Regions from separate parts of the Homo sapiens genome. Here regions 1 and 3 are each linked to region 2. The links are contacts of gene promoters, found by promoter capture Hi-C in human tissues and cell types (Jung and others, 2019). All regions are on one chromosome and are shown on one strand. Each heading gives the region's core, a stretch centred on a gene start or on the middle of the fragment in contact. The rest is flanking DNA. Distances are from core to core; before and after follow the strand shown. Region 1 has its middle 7.5 kb from the start of LINC01976. Region 2 holds the start of NAGS (N-acetylglutamate synthase). Region 3 overlaps HDAC5 (histone deacetylase 5).

What was found. The method cuts DNA at HindIII sites, captures the fragments that hold promoters and counts their contacts. A contact is called where the count stands out against the background at its distance.
Region 1: a contact is called between a fragment that was not itself captured here and the fragment with the promoter of NAGS in region 2, in 2 of the 25 tissues and cell types used here (IMR-90 fibroblasts and dorsolateral prefrontal cortex).
Region 3: a contact is called between a fragment that was not itself captured here and the fragment with the promoter of NAGS in region 2, in 2 of the 25 tissues and cell types used here (lymphoblastoid cells and spleen).

Annotation. Positions count from the first base shown.
Region 1 is chr17:43,929,039-43,932,458 of GRCh38, forward strand. It overlaps LOC102724183. Among named protein-coding and RNA genes, the nearest start is that of LINC01976, 7.5 kb to the right of the region's middle. The HindIII fragment of the contact is 7,048 bases long and covers 1-3,420 here.
Region 2 is chr17:44,002,080-44,006,000 of GRCh38, forward strand. NAGS (N-acetylglutamate synthase) reads left to right here and starts at 2,543. Exons shown (of 7, transcript NM_153006.3): 1 at 2,543-3,010; 2 at 3,558-3,832. The coding sequence starts at 2,585. It also overlaps a transcript of PYY not described here. RefSeq lists an enhancer at 3,466-3,921. The HindIII fragment of the contact is 21,260 bases long and covers 1-3,921 here.
Region 3 is chr17:44,108,019-44,111,512 of GRCh38, forward strand. HDAC5 (histone deacetylase 5) reads right to left here. Exons shown (of 27, transcript NM_005474.5): 3 at 2,711-2,782. Among named protein-coding and RNA genes, the nearest start is that of HDAC5, 14 kb to the right of the region's middle. The HindIII fragment of the contact is 4,562 bases long and covers 1-3,494 here.

The DNA of each region.
Region 1 (3,420 bases), core at 852-3,351, 73 kb before region 2:
CCACCACTGCTTACAGGCTAGGGCAATTTATAGGTATGGTGGGGAGGGGTCTGGGCAGTAGGGCTTGCTGCCTGGCAGGATATTGATGAGATGTTCCCATGATGAGGTGCTTCTGGCCCTTGTTCCAGCGGGATGTCATCATGGTGTTCCTTGGACCTTTGTCCAGCAAGATATGACAAGGATGTTTCTTTTTCTTTTCTTTCTTTTTTGTTTTCTTTTTCTTTTTTCTTTTTTTTTTTTTTTTAGATGGAGTCTCACTCTCTTGCCCAGGCTGGAGTGCAGTGGCGTGATCTCGGCTCACTGCAACCTCTGCCTCCTGGGTTCAAGCAATTCTCCTACCTCAGCCTCCTGAGTAGCTGGGATTACAGGTGTGCACCACCATACCCAGCTAATTTTTGTGTTTTCAGTAGAGACAGGTTTTCACCATGTTAGCCAGGCTGCTGATCTCGAACTCCTGACCTCAAGTGATCTGCCCGCCTCAGCTTCCCACAATGCTGGGATTACAGGTGTGAGCCATTGCACCAGGCCAGGGATGTTTCTTTCGTTGGGCCTTTGTCCGCCCTGTGGTCAGGTGGTTAGGTAGGATGTTTCTCATGGCCTGAACCCCTGTGAAATGTTTCGCTTTGACCAAGGTCTGCAAAATAGCAAGGAACTTGTAACATGGTGCAGTTTGGCTAACATTCTTGCCTTTTACTTTAATATAAAAGGAAGAGGGGTGTTGTGTTGTTGATTGTCTGGCTACTTCCTTCCGAATAGGGGTGCTGTACTCGGCGTGTGGGTTTTGAAGCAGTGGGCGTTCGACTTCAGAGTTGTTTTCCTTGAGGCGCTGATACCGGCCTTGGCGGAGGAGAATGACGGTATTCATGTGTTTCTGGGTGGTTGCCTGAACAAGGGAGTTCAGCCTTTGGGAGATAAAGCAGGATATGAAGGTGAGTACACATGGGCCAATTGTTAGTATTAGGAGGCAGAAAATTAGGGGTCCTCCAACTGGCTATCCCGGTGCCGAGTGTAGCAGAGATATTTAGTCCTGCTAACGGGAATGAAATGTACAGCCCGCTTGGTGTGTGGGGTGGGGAGAGGAAACAGGCATTACTAAAGGAACCTGAACCTGAATAGTTTGTTAGGCAAAATGTTATTGTTTGGAGATTGAAACACCAGGGTGCATATTCCTGATCAATTGGCCAGTAGGCAGAAATAAGATTTTGCACCACAAAGGAAGAAGATCACAGGTGCATGCCACCACGCCCAGCTAATTTTTATATTTTTTTGTAGAGGTGAGGTTCCCTGGGCCCAAGTGCAGCCTAGGGAATTCTGGCACTCTCCAGATGTCAGAGGTCATAATCAAGGATGACGCCTTTAGTTAGGCAAACCAACTTAGAGCCTCCACTCCATACCATAGGGGAGTCCCAGACAAGAACACAGCTTGGGCTGGGCGTGGTGGCTCACTCCTGTAATCCCAACACTCTGGGAAGCTGAGGTGGGTGGACACTTGAGGTCAGGAGTTCGAGACCAGTCTGGCCAACATGGTGAAACCCCGTGTCTACTAAAAATACAAATATTAGCCAGGCGTGGTGGCCCGTGCCTGTAGTCCCAGCTACTCAGGAGGCTGAGGCAGGAGAATTGCTTGAACCTGAGAGGCGGAGGTTACAGTGAGCAGAGATCATGCCACTGCACTCTAGCCTGGGCAACACAGTGAGGCTCTGTCTCAAAAAAAAGTAGTAAAAATAATAATGTGTTATATATCATATCATATGACATATAATGTAGCTATGATGATACAATAATAATAGCCGTTATTCTTAAAATGGCATATGAGGCAGGTCTTGAAGGATATGCAGCTTCATTGGCCAAAATTTCCATCACTCCCTGCTTGCTCTCTCCTCTGTCAATCAGCTGCTACCAGGGAGGTCCAGTTTCTGAAACACTGGAATCGTGTGAGCAGAAGTCGCCACTCACACCAGCCCTTGGTGTGAGGAGGAGGACATTTGAGGGCAAGGTAGCTGCAGCCCCCAAGCTGCCCTCCACACTGGAAGCCAGTCAAGGCGTGGCCTCCTCAGCTGGAGTTGACATCCAGTTCTGCTCTGGACCTGCAAAGTCTCTGAGGGCTTCCTGCCAGGCTGCAGGGAGGGGTTTGGGTGTAGACCTGGTGGACTGTAAAATTACCCATTTGCCCCAGATTAATGATTAACGGGTCCCTGCCCTCACCCTGTCTGGGAGAGGAGCCCAGGGTCAGGCTAGGCCAAGGGGAGCCCGATAGCATCTGTCTCTGCTCAGAGGTTTCAGAGATATGCTCCATGATGGTTTGACTGCACCTGATGGGTGTGGAATCTACGGGTGATTTCTGAGGCCACCTGGGGCCTGGCCAGGCCGCATACCCTCTGGTGAGGCTTCCAACTTCTGGGGCATACAGAGAGGATGTGGCATCCAGTCAGAAGCCCTGGTTAAGGCAAGTGGCTCCAAACAGGAGAGCTGTCCCTTGGCTCAGAGGAATGTGGGCTTCTCTGACTACTCCTGGCTTGACCACAGGACTTACCCTGGCCAGTGGCACATGAGCAACATGATAAGTGCCACATCTAAGCAGGATGTGGCACTTTAAGAGCTACTGCAGCCGGGCGCGGTAGCTCACACCTGTAATCCCAGCAATTTGGGAGGCCAAGGCAGGCAGATCACAAGGTCAGGAGATTGAGACCATCCTGGCCAACATGGTGAAACCCCATCTCTACTAAAAATACAAAAATTAGCCAGGCGTGGTGGTGGTGCATGCCTGTAGTCCCAGCTACTTGGGAGGCTGAGGGAGGAGAATCGCTTGAACCCGGGAGGCGGAGGTTGCAGCCTGGCGACAGAGCAAGACTACGTTTCAAACAAACAAACAAATAAACAAGCAAACAAACAAAAAAGGAGCCATTGCCTGGTTCTACTTTTGCTTTTCTTTTCTTTTTTTCTTTTTTTTCTTTTTCTTTTTTGAGACAGGGTCTCACTCGGTTGCTTAGGTTGGAGTTCAGTGACGTGATCTCTTCTCACTGCAGCCTCCACCTCCTGAGCTCAAACTATCCTCCTGCCTCAGCCTCCCAAGTAGCTGGGACTACAGGCTTGTGCCACCATGCCTGGCTAATTTTCATACTTTTAGTAGAGATGGGGTTTCGCTATGTCATCTAGGCTGGTCTCAAACTCCTGGACTCAAGCAATCCGCCTGCCTTGGCCTCCCAAAGTGGTGGGATTACAGGTGTGAGCCACCGCACCTCGCCCACCTTTGCTCTTTTACCCTGGCTAGGAGCCCAGGATGTCCCAGAACGGGGTTACTTCTTTTGGGGTGAGCCCTGAAATGATGTATATTCCACCCACACTGGGGGCACCCAAGGAGGCTCCCTTCCCTTCACCTGCCCCTCACCACCATCCCCAAGGCTCACCCGTCTCTGTCCT
Region 2 (3,921 bases), core at 1,293-3,792:
CCCTCCACGCCATTGCTTCATGCTTTGCCTTGGAACCCAAGATTTCTAAGTGGGAAAACAAAAAAACTCAATGAGGAGGTCCTATGTCAGCCCCTCCTTCCACTACAGAGTCTCCCCCCCGGGACAGTGTGTCCGAGGGGTGGGGGACTGCGGGGAAGATCCCAGAAACGGGTAAGCGCACTCACTCGGCCTCCCCTGGAGACTCCTCAGGAGGGAAGTAGCCCAAGCCCTGCTCCCCAAAAAGGCAGAGCCCCAGGTGTCAGGACTCCAGCATGGGGAGACAAAACCACGTGCAAGAAAGCAGGGAGGAGCAGGGGTAGGAACTGAGGGTGCTTAGGGTCTGGCCATGCCACTGACGAGCTGTGTGACCTTGGCCAGGTCACCTCCCCTCTACAACAACAGAGGGTCCTCTTTCCCCCTCTACAACAACAGAGGGTCTGACTGGATCAGAGTGTACCCAAGGGCAGGATGTGTGCAGCTGACAGTGCCCAGCACATGGACACAGTATGAAGTAACATTGAATCATATCCTGTGAATGTTTTCAAGCCTTTCAACTCCTTTCCAAAACTTGCTTAACAGCATGGATCTGGAGCAGAACTGCTTCCTAGACCAGCTCCACGGCTTGTGAGCTGAGTGACCCTGATCCTCACATATTTCTGTACCTCCATTTTCTCATCTGTAAAATGGGAATAATGATAATAGCTATCCTGGAGTCACTGAGAGGATTAAATGAATGACTATTTGTGAAGTCCTTTGCATAGTGCCTAGCATTCGACATGTGTTAGCTATTCCTCTACCACACAGAAGGCTTTGCTTGGTGCTAGGGTATCTTTAACACATGGCACCTGCTAACCTTCCATGTTACCAAGAAAGCAGGCAAGCTATGCAGATGGAATATAATGGAATGTAATAACATTGTTTTCCTCTCACTTGATTCTTTTTTAATTTTGATTTTAATTTTAATTTTAATTTTTTTGAGACAGGGTCTCATTCTGTCGCCCAGACGGGAGTGCAGTGGCACAGTCTCAGTTCACCGCAATCTCCTCCTCCCAGGCTCAAGTGATTCTCTGGCCTCCTGAGTAGCTGGGATTACAGAAACATGCCACTACTGCCTGGCTAATTTTTGTATTTTTAGTAGAGATGGGGTTTCACCATGTTGGCCAGGCTGGTCTTGAACTTCTGACCTCAAATGACCCACCCGCCTCCTCACTTGATTCTTAAGGCTTATGGCAAGTGATACTGGCCTAGTTACAGACCTAACATGGATAAACTTTAAGTTTAAAAAGGTTAAAGAGGGCCGGGCGTGGTGGCTCACGCCTGTAATCCCAGCACTTTGGGAGGCTGAGGCAGGTGGATCACGAGGTCAGGAGTTTGAGACAATCCTGGCCAACATGGTGAAACCCTGTCTCTACTAAAAATACAAAGATTAGCCGGGTGTGATGGTGTCTGCCTGTAATCCCTGCTACTCAGGAGGCTGAGGCAGGAGAATCGCTTGAACCCAGAAGGCGGGGATTACAGTGAGCCGAGATCGCAACACTGCACTCCAGCCTGGGCAATAGGGTGGGACTCCATCTCAAACAAACAAACAAACAAAAAAAAAAAAAAAAAAAAGGGTTACAGAGGTCGAGTGAAGTAGCTCACACCTGTAATCCCAGCACCTTGGGAGGCAGAAGTGGGAGGACTGCTTGAGCTCAGGAGTTCACGAACAGTCTGGGCAACATGGTGAACACCCGTCTTCAAAAAAAATAATTTTTTTTTAAATCAGCTGGGCATGGTGGTGTGCATTTGTGGTCCCAGCTACTAGGGAGACTGAGGCAGGAGGATCATTTGAACCTGGGAGGTGGAGGCTGCAGTGAGCTATGATTGCACCACTGTACTGCAGCCTGGGCAACAACAGAGTGAGACCCTATCTCAAAAACCAAAATAAAAAACTCTATTTTATTTTATTTTTACCAGATGTGATATTCGATAAAGAAAAGCATTAACACTAAAGTATTATAAGTTTTGAGGGGTGTTTTGAGGATATCACAGAATTCCTCAAGCTGGTACCCAGTGACTGGAGTTTGGCAAACCCTGGTAACCTCATGGTCATTCATTAGGATCTTTTTTGAGCTCAGGCAACAGGACAGACAAGGCCAGCACCACCCGCCCCCGCCCTCCCACTGCCCCCCTTCTTCTACTCTTTCCAGCGCCCTCCTTCCAGCCCCCTGCCCAGCCCTGTGCTCAAAGCCACCTACAGTCCCTTCTTCTCTGGTCAGAATGCCAATCATCCAAGGCCCTGCAGACTCCCAAAGCCGCCCCTGGAACCTACCTTGGCAGCAGATTAAAGACAACCCGCCACATTTAGTCTCGGCCCCATGACCGATAGTGGGTTCAGTTCCTCCAGGGGCGGGGGAGCCTAGTGGCCCCGCCCCCTGACTCATGGCCTGACCCTCCTCAAACGCACCCAGAGGAGACTCCTGGTCCCCTGTCCGGACCCCGCCCCGACCAGGTCCAGCCCCGCCCAACGGCAAGTTAAGAGCCCCCCAGTGCCAGACGCTCCAGACAGACTGCCACTCTTGGGGGGCAAGAGTTGGTTGTCGTCATGGCGACGGCGCTGATGGCTGTGGTTCTGCGGGCAGCTGCTGTAGCCCCGAGGCTGAGAGGCCGGGGAGGCACTGGGGGCGCCCGAAGGCTGAGCTGTGGCGCGCGGCGGCGGGCGGCGAGGGGCACCAGCCCGGGGCGCCGGCTCAGCACCGCCTGGTCGCAGCCCCAGCCCCCGCCCGAGGAGTACGCGGGCGCGGACGACGTCTCCCAGTCGCCCGTCGCCGAGGAGCCGTCGTGGGTGCCGAGTCCCAGGCCCCCGGTGCCCCACGAGTCCCCAGAGCCTCCTTCGGGCCGCTCGCTGGTGCAGCGGGACATCCAGGCCTTCCTGAACCAGTGCGGGGCCAGCCCTGGGGAGGCGCGCCACTGGCTCACGCAGTTCCAGACCTGCCATCACTCCGCGGACAAGCCCTTCGCCGTCATCGAGGTGAGCGGAGCCCGGCGTGGGCCGTGACGCAGCGAGGGGATGGGGTTGTGCGGCCACCTGTCCTCAGGCATGGCAGGATACGCTGCGGGCTCTGCGCAGCGGAAGCGGGAAGGAGCCCGGCAGGGCCCAGACCAGCGCCGCCGGGAATGGGAGAGGCCGTAAGCTCCTCCGGAAGCCTCCCGCCCAGCCCGAGTGAGGATCCTGGGGGACCCCACCCGCCAGGTGTGATGCTCTGAAGAAGGCCCCCAACATGGGCGCAGTTAGGGGTTCAGAAGGACCTGGACAGGAGCCGCTTGCACTGCCCCTCCCCCAAAGATGTCCCGGAGTCCAAGGTCGGAGGGAGGAGGGCGGGAGGTACCCCAGCGTGAGACAAGGGAGTGGCAAGACCCAACGGGGCAAAGGGCGGAGCAGGTGGGCACTGGTGGCCAGAACTGGGTCCTGACAGCTTCTGGAAGGGTAGGGTCACCGAGACGGCCCTGCAGGCCAGGCTGTGGGAGCCAGCGGCTCAGGTCCGTGTCACGCTCCTTGAAAGCCCACTCCTCCGCAGGTGGACGAGGAGGTGCTCAAGTGCCAGCAGGGCGTATCCAGTCTGGCCTTTGCCCTGGCCTTCTTGCAGCGCATGGACATGAAGCCGCTGGTGGTCCTGGGGCTGCCGGCCCCTACGGCTCCCTCGGGCTGTCTTTCCTTCTGGGAGGCCAAGGCGCAGCTGGCCAAGAGCTGCAAGGTGCTGGTAGACGCGCTTCGACACAACGCCGCCGCTGCTGTGCCATTTTTTGGCGGCGGGTCTGTGCTACGCGCTGCCGAGCCGGCTCCCCATGCCAGGTGAGTGCCCGCCCTGCCCGCCCAGGCGTCCTCAGAGCGTGCTACTCTGCCCGCCCTGCCCCGTCCGGCAGGCCTGGAGGGGGCCCTCT
Region 3 (3,494 bases), core at 587-3,086, 110 kb after region 2:
ATCCCATACTAGAGTTCAAACTCCCAGGCTCCCCAAGCCAGAACTAAGCTGGGATGATGGTGGTGCCCACTGTGCACTGGGGAGCTGTGGTAGGGTGGCCAGGCAGAGACCCCATCCATCAAGGAAGACCTCTGATCGCTAAGAGCAGATGCTGAGATCCGCCCCACTCTTTAAGCAAGAACAGCAGACTGCCCCTGTCCTTCGGTAGGCTAAGGCTCTGTCTTACCCGCTGGGGTGACTCACTAAAGCTGTCTCTATTCACCCAGAGGTCCAGGCCCCAGAATAGAGCCCAGGAATCCTGCCAGCAATTCTGGACTCCAGCCCTCCCCATGCGACATTCATTCATCCATGTGCCAGGCACTGTGCTAGGTGCTGGGCAATGGCAACAACCAAGACAGCCCAGAGAGCAAAGGCTATCCCTAAAATAGGGTTCTAAAGATGCTGCTGGAGGTGGCAGGCAGGCACCACCCTCGAAAGACCCTTGCCCCAACCCCTTGGGCTTGGGAGACCTGCGCAACTCACACCATCCAAAGAAGCTTCCCTGGACACCTGCTTTTTCAGCCATAGGATCTTGCATCCTGTCTGGAGACCGATCAAGAGATGGGGAGAGGGGGTGGGGAGGGAAACACCAGGCTGCCTGGGCCCTCATGGCCGTGTTTATCCGGGGTGGATTTTTTTTAACCCAAAGGTTAAAGTGTTTCTATTTGAAACATCTATTTACATTCCAGAGTCCAAAAAAAAAACAAAAAAAAAACAAAAAAAAAACAAGGCTGCCGAGCTCCAGGCCTATATCTGTCCCTAGCCGCGTCACAGACACAGCATCAGAGCTGCGCAGGGGGAACATTCTTAGCCCTCTCCCCGAGCCGCTGAGGTGACTCACGCCTCCCTCCTGCCAGCATGGACCAAGCCACCACTCTGAAGGCCAGCCAGCGTTGGGGGTGGAGTGGGGAGACAGGGATCTGGACAGAGGGGCTGCCTGGGAGTCCATGCAGGGGCAGCCAGGCTTAGGGAGGAGATGAGAGAGCAGGGTCCCAGCCTGCAAGGTTTCTGGGGTACAATCTGGAAGCAGGTGAATGAACAAGCTGAGGAGGAAACTTCCGGCCAACTGCTGGCTGCTGCTGGTAGCAAGGAACAGAGGCGACAGGGCAGGATGGGTGGACCTGATAAGCCAGATGGCGTGGAGCTGTCCCAAGCAGATGCTCTGGGATTATTCTGCCTTCCAAGAGACCACCTTGAGTCCCAGAGGCTGTGGGCTAGGGGCCAGCAGGCAGGGTCTTTAGCTGGACCTGTGGACTCCAGACCAGGATAAGAACCAGCCCTCTGGGTTTATTCCTCATCCCAGGGACCTGTGTAGGGGGCCCCCAGGCATACGCCCCTACCTCAGGGGACTACGTGGGTATCTTGTAGAGCCGGTTCCCAAGGTTACACCCCCATCCCCACCCCAGCCTACAGGGCTGGCCCCAGGGTAATGCCCCTATCCTCGGGGCCTGCATGGATACCCTGCAGGGCTAGTCTTCAGGGTCATGCTCCTACATGAGAAAACTGCATGGGCATCCCTGCCTGGGCAGATGATAAGCCATGTTCCAAAGATTTTTTGAATCTTCCCAAAACATTCATGCTCTGACACATCCAAGTCCCACTGCAACCTTATCCCTGGGCAGCTCAGAGCCAAATCACAGGCACCTGCAGAGGCACACAGTTCCCACTTTCCAATTTGAAGCTTGGGATGCACACCCACATATCCAGAGGCAAGGACTCCCCATTCACACGCACACACACAGACACCCACACTTGAGTGCCAAGCCACTGCCAGGAGGGGCTGAGCAGGCATGGGTCCAGCAGGCCCCTCCCTGGAGGAAGCATCTTGTGGTGCCGGCCTGGTGGGGAGGCTGTGCCAGGAAGGCTTGATGCTGCCAACAGGTTCCTGGGAGTGAGGGAAGGAGCGGCCCAGCTCTGGGGGACCCCACCCCTAGCCAAGAGCCAAAAAAGTTCCTGCTGAGAAGGTGGCAGGATTAGGGGGTCCCGAAGCCCATCTGAGCCAGAGTAACACCTCTTCATCCTCATGAGATGGGAATCAACCCAGACCTGGGGAGAGGAGCGCCATCGGGAGACAGCTAGGGGCTAAGGCAGCCAAGCCCCTCAATATCCAAGCTGCCAGCCTCTGCCTAACTCCATCATGACTGCACCAAGCCTCCCCAAGTGTCTGATTCTCAAGAGACTCCTGGCTGGGGACTTGCGGAAGTCACTGTACTCGATCCTGTAGCCCCAAGAACCAAGCCAGAGGAGCTGGAGTAACCTTTATTCTTGTGGACACCCAGCTACACCTTCTTCCCTTGCCCAAACTTGGGGAGCGGGCAGCATGGAGGCGGGTCACTGACCCACTTCCTCCCCTCTGACCACAGTGCCAACTAGGCCAGGATCCTCCAGTAACCCCCAGCCCCCAGCAGTGGATGCCGACCCTGCCAGAGACTGAAGGGACTGGAAGAGATGCAGCAGAGTACAGCGGAGGGGCACCGGGGAGCAGCAGGCTCTGGGCAGGGAGGGCAGGGGCCTCTCTGAGCAGGGATCCCCCAGCCCTGTGTATTCTCAACAAAACTCTCAAGACAGATCTATGCAGGACCCTATCTGTGCAAGGCTCAGGGCCAGATGCTCAGCCCAGGGACAAGGATGCCAGATGACAGAGGGCAGGCAGGGACATCAAGGCACTTACCTGTCACAGGGATGCTGTGCAGAGAAGTCCGCGGCAGGATTTCCAAGGATGGTTCCCGACCTGACATCCCATCTGCTGAGAAACAGGATTCTGTCTCATAGATGGTCTGCAGCATCTCCACGAGCCCCTGAGCCTTGGGCACCAGCAGCATGCCAGGGAGGGGGCCGCCAGAGGCGGGGAGCAGACCGAAGGGAAGGTGGTCGGGCAGCCCGCACAGCACAGGTTCCCTCAGGCCACTGCCGACGGGACCCACACTGTAGGGAAGTGCCTCATCCGGCCTGGGCACTCCTGGCGGCAGGAGGGGCAGGGAGGCCCTAGAGCTGCAGGCCCAGCTCTGCTCTAGAGGGGCATCCGACCACCAGCCTCTCCCTGGTTCCTGGGAGCTGGGGTATGGCTGAGCACTTGGGACAGGAAGGGGAGCTCAGCGGGCAGGCGGGCTCTGTGTTCCCTCCCAACCCTGGGTGACAGCTCTGGGCCCGGCTCCCTGCTCCTCCTTCCCGAATGAGCCGCCGCCGGCAGCTGGCAGGAGACTGAAATAGCAGTTGGGGGAGGGCCCTGTCTATAAATAGGTGGAGCATGCTCAGGGAGCTGCGGGCGGGCTGCCAGGAGGCCCCATGGGGGGGGAGGCGGTTCTACCCCAGGAGGAAGCGCCAGGCGAGGGGGATGGGAACAGGGGAGGGCCTGCACTCAGGGCCAAGGCCACAGCGCTGGGTGGCCAGAGGCTGGGCTGGGGAAGGGCGCCGGCCAGGGTACCCATGCATCTGGGAGCGGCTCTGGCTGCTAC